Regions from separate parts of the Homo sapiens genome. Here region 1 is linked to region 2. Evidence: promoter capture Hi-C in human tissues and cell types (Jung and others, 2019). All regions are on one chromosome and are shown on one strand. The core of a region is centred on a gene start or on the middle of the fragment in contact, and the rest is flanking DNA. Distances in the headings are between cores, read along the strand shown. Region 1 holds the start of TMEM202 (transmembrane protein 202). Region 2 holds the start of HIGD2B (HIG1 hypoxia inducible domain family member 2B).

Region 1 (4,939 bases), core at 1,663-4,162, 290 kb before region 2:
TCTACGATTGGTGGGAATTTATGTTGATTCCATGTCTTTGCTATTGTGAATAGTGCTTCAGTGAACATACATGTGCATGTGTCTCTATGATAGAATGATTTCTATCCCTTTGGGCATATACCCAAAAATGGGATTGCTGGGTCAAATGGTAGTTCTTTCTGTCTTCATGTCTTTGAGGAATCATCACACTGCTTTCCACAATGTTTGAATTAATAATTTACACTCCCATCAACAGTGTATGTGTTCCTTTTTCTCCACAACCTCGCCACAGTCTGTTATTTTTTTGACTTTTTATAGTAGCCATTCTGACTGGTGTGAGATGGTATCTCATTGTGGTTTTAATTTCTCTAATGATCTGCCCCTCTTTCCACGGTCTCCCTCTCCCTCTCCCTCTCTTTCCACGGTCTCCCTCTCCCTCTCCCTCTCCCCTCTTTCCACGGTCTCCCTCTCCCTCTCCCCTCTTTCCACGGTCTCCCTCTCCCTCTCTTTCCACAGTCTCCCTCTCATGCCGAGCCGAAGCTGGACTGTGCTGCTGCCATCTCGGCTCACTGCAACCTCCCTGCCTGATTCTCCTGCCTCAGCCTGCCGAGTGCCTGCAATTGCAGGCGCGCGCCGCCACGCCTGACTGGTTTTCGTATTTTTTTGGTGGAGACGGGGTTTCGCTGTGATGGCCGGGCTGGTCTCCAGCTCCTGACCGCGAGTGATCCGCCAGCCTCGGCCTCCCGAGGTGCCGGGATTGCAGACGGAGTCTCGTTAACTCAGTGCTCAATGGTGCCCAGGCTGGAGTGCAGTGGCGTGATCTCGGCTCGCTACAACCTCCACCTCCCAGCCGCCTGCCTTGGCCTCCCAAAGTGCCGAGATTGCAGCCTCTGCCCGGCCGCCACCCCGTCTGGGAAGTGAGGAGCGTCTCTGCCTGGCCGCCCATCGTCCGGGATGTGAGGAGCCCCTCTGCCTGGCTGCCCAGTCTGGAAAGTGAGGAGTGTCTCTGCCCGGCCGCCATCACACCTAGGAAGTGAGGAGCGCCTCTTCCCGGCCGCTATCCCATCTAGGAAGTGAGGAGCGTCTCTGCCCGGCCGCCCATCGTCTGAGATGTGGGGAGCGCCTCTGCCCTGCTGCCCCGTCTGGGATGTGAGGAGCGCCTCGGCCTGGCCGCGACCCTGTCTGGGAGGTGAGGAGCGTCTCTGCCCAGCTGCCCTGTCTGAGAAGTGAGGAGACCCCCCGCCTGGCAACCGCCCCGTCTGAGAAGTGAGGAGCCCCTCCGCCCTGCTGCCACCCCGTCTGGGAAGTGAGGAGCGTCTCCGCCCAGCAGCCACCCTGTCCGGGAGGGAGGTGGGGGTCAGCCCCCGCCAGGCCAGCCGCCCCGTCCGGGAGGGAGGTGGGGGGTCAGCCCCCCACCCGGCCAGCCGCCCCGTCCGGGAGGTGAGGGGCACCTCTGCCCGGCCGCCCCTACTGGGAAGTGAGGAGCCCTTCTGCCCGGCCAGCAGCCCCGTCCGGGAGGGAGGTGGGGGGTCAGCCCCCTGCCCGGCCAGCCGCCCCGTCCGGGAGGTGAGGGGCGCCTCTGCCCGGCCGCCCCTACTGGGAAGTGAGGAGCCCCTCTGTCCGGCCAGCCGCCCCGTCCGGGAGGGAGGTGGGGGGTCAGCCCCCCGCCCGGCCAGCCGCCCCGTCCGGGAGGTGAGGGGCGCCTCTGCCTGGCCGCCCCTACTGGGAAGTGAGGAGCCCCTCTGCCCGGCCACCACCCCGTCTGGGAGGTGTACCCAACAGCTCATTGAGAACGGGCCATGATGACAATGGCGGTTTTGTGGAATAGAAAAGGGGGAAAGGTGAGAAAAAGAATGAGAAATCGGATGGTTGCTGTGTCTGTGTAGAAAGAAGTAGACATGGGAGACTTTTCATTTTGTTCTGTACTAAGAAAAATTCTTCTGCCTTGGGATCCTGTTGATCTATGACCTTACCCCCAACCCTGTGCTCTCTGAAACATGTGCTGTGTCCACTCAGGGTTAAATGGATTAAGGGCGGTGCAAGATGTGCTTTGTTAAACAGACGCTTGAAGGCAGCATGTTCGTTAAGAGTCATCACCACTCCCTAATCTCAAGTACCCAGGGACACAAACACTCTGCCTAGGAAAACCAGAGACCTTTGTTCACTTGTTTATCTGCTGACCTTCCCTCCACTATTGTCCTATGACCCTGCCAAATCCCCCTCTGCGAGAAACACCCAAGAATGATCAATAAAAAAATAAAAAAATTAAAAAAAAAATACAAAGATTAATTTCTCTAATGATCTGAACATAGAAACCAGCAAAGATTTCATGATGAAGATGCAAAAAGCAATTGCAACAAAAGCAAAAATTGACAAATGGGATCTAATTAAACTAAAGAGCTTCTGCATAGCAAAAGAAACTATCAATAGCGTACACAGAAAACCTACAGAAAGGGAAAATTTTTTTGCAAACTATGCATCTGACAAAGGTCTAATATCCAGCATCTGTAAGGAACTCAAATAAATTTACAAGAAAAAGACAAATAACCCCATTAAAAAGTGGGCAAAGGGCATGAACACTTTTCAAAAGAAGAAACACATGTGGCCAACAAGCATATGAGTTCCCCTTTTTTTATTTGCTATGAGGGAACTGTGTCTTATTTATTTTTGTGTCCCAGAAGCTAGCACAAAGCCTGACACACAGCCACTGCTAACAAAATGTTTGTGGATTTATTTAATAAAAGAGTTGGGAGTAGGTGGAGAATGGAGGGTGGGGAGCATCACACATACATGCACATGCTTAAAATGTGGTGATTTCTTCCTGATCTGACCAGATCAAAAATATAAAACAGAAACAGGATCTATGCCATGGGTCCTGGCCCTTTTTGCTTCTGCCAGCATGTGTGAGGAGATGCAGAGACAAATTCCGTGGCAGTTAGAGAACTAACTGCCAAGATGGAGCGAAGGGAACATTTAACCTTGACTTTCCACAGTCCTGAGGTTCCCAAAATAAAGGGGAACCGGAAATACCAAAGGGTGAGGAGGTATCTAATTGAAAGTCAGATGGGAAGAAGAGAACTTACTTAAAGGCAGGGCTACACAGAGCATCCTAAAGACAGAAAAGATCACCCTGAAAATTGTGGGGTTTTTTTTTTTTAGGAGTAGGGAAAAATATCTATAAATCAAACACACATGGGAATGCTTGAGGTAGAGAAGAGCGGGTGACCCTGGGGATCAGGGGTTATTCTTTCGGGTAGGCAATATTTCCCTCATCCTTGTAGCCTACCGTCCCTGCCAAGAAACATCCAAGTGCCTCGATGTCATGCCAAAGGCAGCAGCAGCTTATGGATCAGGCACACATCTACATCCGAACGCTCTGTGGCAGCCTCTGTAGTTTTAGCCTCCTAATGCTGATCGCCATGTCCCCACTGAACTGGGTACAGTTTCTGGTGATCAAGAATGGCCTTGAGCTCTACGCAGGACTCTGGACCTTATGCAACCATGAGCTGTGCTGGAGCCACACACCCAAGCCACCCTGTGAGTGCCACCGAATTAAATGCCACAGGCCCCACACAATTGCAGAGCTTTCTGCTCACACAAATTGGCCCTTCATGTTTCTTCCTCCAAGATCTTTTGGCCTTCACCTCTCCAAGTGCAGGATGGATCTTTCTTTGGTATCCTCAGTGTGCCCTTTCTCTCTCCTATTCCAGGTTGTTTCCTGTCCTAAATAATGGGTTATACTCTCTTTATGGGAAGAACTGTTTTTGTTTGTTGGTTGGTTTTTCGAGACAGGCTCTTGCTCTAACGCCTAGCCGAAGTGCAAAAGCACTATCATTGCTCACTGCAGCCTCCACCTCCAGGACTCAAGCAATCTTCCTGTTCAACCTCCTGAGTAGGTGGAACTACAGATGTGTGCCAACACTCCTGGCTAATTTTTAATTTTTTTAAATTTTTTTTTCTTTTGTAGAGACAAGTTCTCATTATATTTCCCAGGCTGGTCTCAAAGTCCTGGCCTCAAGTGATCCTCCCAAAGTACCAGGACTATAGGTGTAAGCCACCATGCCTGCCCTAGGAATAACTCATTTACAAGGTGTTACTGCTAAGCAATGTGATTGGTATTCTAATGTGGCTTGCAGAATTAGAAGAGAAGTGATTGATCATAGCTGGAAGATAAAGCAAATATCTTAACCTCTATTAGATTTAACTTTCAAGGTCAGCTTGTTCTTCTCCTAGCAGTGGAATAGAACTTAAATGTACGTTAGATATGTGGTATAACAAATGCCAGCTATGAAGATAATGTTATTTATGTCAAATTTTATGTGAATTTAAATAAATCTGAAAGTGCAACACAAAATATTTTAAAATAAGTTTTTGGGGCTAAAAATAACATATGCATGAATTTTTCAATCAAACCAAAAACTTAGAGGAAAGATATCATTACACTGACAGTTTTCCCATAACCCGCAAGATATACATTTACACAAAGAAGTGGGTATTGTGAAAGAAAACATATGTGAGTAAAGCATCTATTCTCATCACATAAGCAGGGGTCCCATCTATTCTCCTCACATAAGCAGGAGGGGAGCACCTGTGCCCAACTCTGAGGTACAGCATCAGTTGTTTGGCCATGGGCTGTGACATTTGATATTAAGGGACAGTATCCTGCATGATCTTGAGAAGAAACTAAAATCAAAGGCAGACAGACAATTCAACTGCATAAAACGAAAACTAGAGAAAATATTTGCAACAATTATGAAAGATAAAGGTTAATGGCCTTAATATAGTAAAAGGATACACAAAGTATTACAAAGACACAAACTCAAATAAATAAGTTCTTTTTGAACAGACATGCACAAAAGAAGAACTATAACTATCTAATAAACATAGGAAAAATAATTTAACCTCAATCATTAAAGAAAGGTAAATCAAATGAATAACAAGATGTAACTTTTCAACCACC
Region 2 (4,977 bases), core at 699-3,198:
TTTTGGGGAGTTTAAATAACCCCAGAGGATTCCATGGTTACTTCGGGTATGCCTTATGTAAATAGAGAAGATGAAGTAAAGTTACAAAGACATTTATGGCCTATGCCCTATGGACAGAATATTACCTGTTATAGCTGAAGTGTGAATTGGCCTTATGTTCCCTACCTCCAGACCCTATTTTCCTGCCTCAGGAGGATTACTTGAGCCTAGGAGTTCAAGTCCAGTCTGGACATCAATAGTGAGACCCCTGCCTCTGAAAAAAAATTTTTTTGAGACAGAGTTTTGCTCTTGTTGCCCAGGCTGGAGTGCAATGGGATGATCTCAGCTCACTGTAACTTCCACCTCCTGGATTCAAGCAATTCTCCTGCCTCAGCTTCCCTAGTAGCTGGGATTACAGGAGCCGGCCACCACGCCCGGATAATTTTTTGTATTTTTAGTAGAGACAGGGTTACACCATGTTGGCCAGGCTGGTCTTGAACTCCTGACCTCAGGTGATCTGCCCACCTCAGCCTCACAAAGTCCTGGGATTACAGGCGTGAGCCACCGAGCCCAGCAAATTTTTGTTTTTTAGACGGAGTCTCCCTCTATCGCCCAGGCTGGAGCACAGAAATGCGATCTCGGCTCACTGCAACCTCTGCCGCTTGGGTTCAAGTGATTCTCCTGACTCAGCCTCCCGAGTAGCTGCGATTACAGGCGGGCACCACCATGCCCGACTAATTTTTTGTATTTTTAGTAGAGACGGGGTTTCACCATGCTGGCCAAGCTGGAAAATTTTATTTTTAATAAATGAAAGGCAGAGTATTTATCTGAAAAAAGTGGGAGACCAACAGTCTCATGGGATTGTTATAAAGATTAAAAGAGAGAGTGTTACTGAAATACTTAGAAGAGCTGTTATTCTATTGCTGTCCTTTCCCCTTGTATTTGGATAGATTACCGTACTTGTTTCTTCTATGTAACTCTAATTGTCAGTGGGGTTCTCCCTCTCTTAGAGGCCTGGAGAAACTTGTCTTAAATGCTTTCCCAGTTAATGAATTGGGAGAGGCAGATTTTATGTCTAAATTACAAGGGCGAGACTTAAAAGTATGAATTGGGGCTAATGTCAGTGCTCAGGTGCAGGGATCCTCCGTTTTGTTCATCACACAGCTCCCGGCACTTTAATAAATGAGGCTCAAAGAAACGACGGGCTTAGGTCATGCAGTAGTCAAATTCAGAACTCATGTTTGATTCCAAAGCCCACACGTTTTCCTAGTTTAGAAACACTAAACATTTAATTCACCGCACCGGGGGCCAGACAGGTAATGGAGAACGCCTTAAGTATGTTAGGAAGGGAAGTTATCTACAGTCGCAGCCGCTATTCAGATCTATTTCACTGCCTTGCAGAAAACGCCGACTGTCGTCTCTTTATCCCATGGCCGATTTCTTGTGAAATCTCCTAACTTTTAAATATTTCCAATCAAAAGACTGCCGTTCAAATGCAGCCCACCAGGAGCATGTTTGCAAACTCTGGAGTAAACAAGAGTGGGAAGCTGATAAGGTGAGTACCTCAGTTCGATAGTGACAGCCAAGAAACGGGGAGTTTTGTACCTAAGGCGAGAAAGAAATTCTCCGCCGAAATCTCCCGGAAGAAGGACTGAATTAAATGCAGATTAGAGTCAGGGCAGGGTAAGGTGGCGGGAGAACTAGGCTGCCATCCCAGGTGGCTGGCCTACCAGCCAGCGCGGCCGGAGGTACAGACCATGTACAGACCACGGCGAGGGGTGTTAGGGGCTTCTCGGGATAAAGGCAGCGAGTGGCTGCGCATTCCCTCCCCGACTCTTTCAGAGGTAAGCCTTCTGTGGAGCAGACCCTAATCCTCCCCCTGATTCCTTAGGTCACTCGGCGATTTACTTCCTTCCCCCGCTTCCTCACAGTCCTCCACAGCCCTACGACTTCCGCTTGCCTCGTCGTCTGGGAAACCGCCGACTTCCGGCCGCGCAGCGGTGGGCTGAGCTAAAATGGCTGAGGAGAGAGTCGCGACGGTGAGCGCCGAGATTCTCTTTAGTTGCCCGGCCGCAGGGCAAGGCAAGCTGGCGGGTGGCTTTTGTCCCATGCAGCGGTTCCTGGAGAGAGGCGGAGCTGGGTGCCGAGCGTCTCAGGGTGGGCGGGGCGACACGGTCCCCTTTTTACTGTCCCGGGAACTGGTCGCCTGGGGCAAGTCTGGATACTTAGCAGCACAGGTCCTGTTCTAGGACTGTAGTCCCTCTTGGGGTGCGCTGGACGGAGAAGGGAGACTTTTCACCAGTAATGGCTCTTACCGTAGTGCCATCTTTTTCTGTCTCGGGGGTTTGGAAGGTAATGACTAGCACTTGTGTAGACAGTTCCTGTTAATCCCGTGAATTGGGAATTTAACATGCCTGGAAGCTTGCAGCGTCACTGCCTTCTGCCAGTGGAGCGGGACTGTGTTTTTTCTGTGGTGATTAAGTTTAGGAAAGTACGGTTTTGGAATTCATCTGAAGGCTGAGTTGGGCGTTCACTCCACAGAACTGCTAATATAGAGGAACCCGATGAATTCAGGATGACCTAGTCGCTATTTTTTGAGGCATATATCTATAATTGGATCTAATTTCGGTAAAGTGCCAAGTGTGAAGCTTTGTTTACCTTGCTTTAGTGTTGGGTTTGAAAGCCTGTTCTGTCCATTTGTTAGAATGATTTTAGGTATTCGGAATTTATTGTCTTTCGAAAAACGCCCTGGAAAACAGTACAAATAGCAGCCTTTGGCTGTTTTACAACTTAGTTTTGGCTAAGCAGCAAGGTTAGTGTTATTGTTAGAGGGCCTTTTGTTTGTTTTCTACTCTCATTTGCAGAGTAGTCATATTATTCTAGTCTAATTAGAAAACTCTGAAGACAGAAACTTTTTTTTTTGAGACGGAGTGTCGCTGTTGTCGGCCCGGGCTGGAGTGCAATGGCGCGATCTCGGCTCACTGCAACCTCCGCCTCCCAGGTTCCAGCAATTCTCCTGCCTCAGCCTCCGGATTAGCTGAGAATACAGGCGCCTGCCACCACGCCCGGCCGAAACATTTTTATTAAGCTAAGAAATTTAAAATAGCTAGGCCGGACGCGGTGCATCACGCCTGTAATCCCAGCACTTTGGGAGGCCGAGACGGGTGGATCACTTGAGGTCATGAGTTTGAGACCATCCTGGCCAACATGGTGAAACCCCGTCTCTACTAAAAATACAAAAATTAGCGGGGCATCGTGGCGCTCGCCTGTAATCCCAGGTACCTGGAAGGCTGAGGCAGGAGAATCGCTTGAACCCCGGAGGCGGAGGTTGCAGTGAGCCGAGATCATGCCATTGCACTCCAGCATGAGCGACAGAGACAGACTCCTTCTCAAAAAAAAAGAAAGAAAAAACAGATTTTAAAATAATTAAATAGGCCAGGCTCAGTGGCTCACGCCTGTAATCCTAGCACCTTGGGAGGCTGAGGTGGGTGGATCGCCTGAGGTCAGGAGTTCGAGACCAGCCTGGCCAACGTAGTGAAACCCTGTCCCTACTAAAAAAATACAAAAAATTAGCTGGACGTGGTGGCGGGCGCTGGTAATCCCAGCTACTAGGGAGGCTGAGGCAGGAGAATCGCTTAGAACCCAGGAGGCAGAGGTTGCAGTGAGCCGAGATCGTGCCATTTCACTGCAGCCTGGGCATCCAGAGCAAAACTCCGTCTCAGAAAAAAAAAAAAAGTAAATAGCATGGTTAATGTTACTGGGTTTTAAATATTAAAAACATAGGAAAGAAAATACTTCCACTCCAGCCTGGGTGACAGAGCAAGACTCCGTCTCAAAAAAAAAAAAAAAAAAAAAAAGAAAATACTTCTAAGTAATCTTAAAGTGTAAAAGATAATGGGTAACATAACATTGCTACAAATATAGCTTATCCTCTAGTGCTCATCACAAGTGTTTGTGTAATAGAATATGAACTTGAGTCTGTGACGGCAGAATTGTCATGTACATTTGAATGTCTAATACTGTTTTAAAGAGAATAGCTTTTGTTTCGATATGACTTAGCAATTAAGCCTGAAGTTAACTGTTTTCATTGTTGTCAAATTTATTGCTAGTAGTGTTACGTTTATAGTAATTTTCATCTTTTCAAGTTACCAATGCATGGAAATGTGAATTTCTGTCCTTTTAGGAAGTGGTATTTTATCTTTTTTTTTTTTTTTTTTTTGAGACGGAGTCTCACTTTGTCGCCCTGTCTGGAGTGCAGTGGCGTGATCTCAGCTCAGTGGAACCTCTGCCTCCCGGGTTCAAGTGATTTTTCTGCCTCAGCCTCCCGAGTAGCTGGGGTTACAGGCCCTCACCACCATGCCTGGCTTATTTTTGTGGAGATGGGGTTTCACCACGTTGGCCAGGCTGGTCTTGAACTCCTGACCTTGTGATCTGCACGCCTCGGTCTCCCAAAGTGTTGGGATTACAGGCGTGAGCCATGGCCCCCTGCCTTATTTTTTAATACAATTAAAAGAACCCAGTAATCCTACTCCTAGACCTGTGTCCCACAGAAAAAAGTGTTAAACATGAGCGTGTAGTACTAGGGCATTCGTTGTAGTACTATCCGTAGTGGCAAAACGCTGGAAGCAAATTAAATGCCCATTAATAGGGTAATTGATGACTTCAGATATTTCCATACTGTGGAATATTATGCAGTCATTAAAAAGAATGTTACAACTAATTGCTTTTCCTCTCAGAAGCCCCTCTCTCTCACTAGAGAAAGCTGTTCTCCTTTCTTTCTTCTGCCTATTAAACCTCCATTCCTAAACTCAGAAAGAAAAAAAAAAAAAGAGAATGTTACGACTAATTGACTTGGAGGGACTTCCATGGTGTACATTTAAATAAAAGGTAGATGTGAAGTGGGGTATATTATGTGATCTTAATTTCATAACACAAAGGAAAACATATAGATCCGTAGATAAGGATATATGGATATGGAGGAGAGAAAAGGAAAAGACT

What was found. Contacts are between HindIII fragments. The study calls those that stand out against the background at their distance.
Region 1: a contact is called between the fragment with the promoter of TMEM202 here and the fragment with the promoter of HIGD2B in region 2, in 1 of the 25 tissues and cell types used here (IMR-90 fibroblasts).

What each region holds. Positions count from the first base shown.
Region 1 is chr15:72,395,393-72,400,331 of GRCh38, forward strand. TMEM202 (transmembrane protein 202) reads left to right here and starts at 2,913. Exons shown (of 5, transcript NM_001080462.3): 1 at 2,913-3,015; 2 at 3,261-3,516. The coding sequence starts at 2,935. The HindIII fragment of the contact is 13,856 bases long and covers 1-4,939 here.
Region 2 is chr15:72,684,234-72,689,210 of GRCh38, forward strand. It overlaps HIGD2B (HIG1 hypoxia inducible domain family member 2B), which reads right to left and starts at 1,949. Exons shown (of 3, transcript NM_001350932.3): 1 at 1,585-1,949. It overlaps BBS4 (Bardet-Biedl syndrome 4), which reads left to right and starts at 1,974. Exons shown (of 16, transcript NM_033028.5): 1 at 1,974-2,018. The coding sequence starts at 1,995. The HindIII fragment of the contact is 21,731 bases long and covers 1-4,977 here.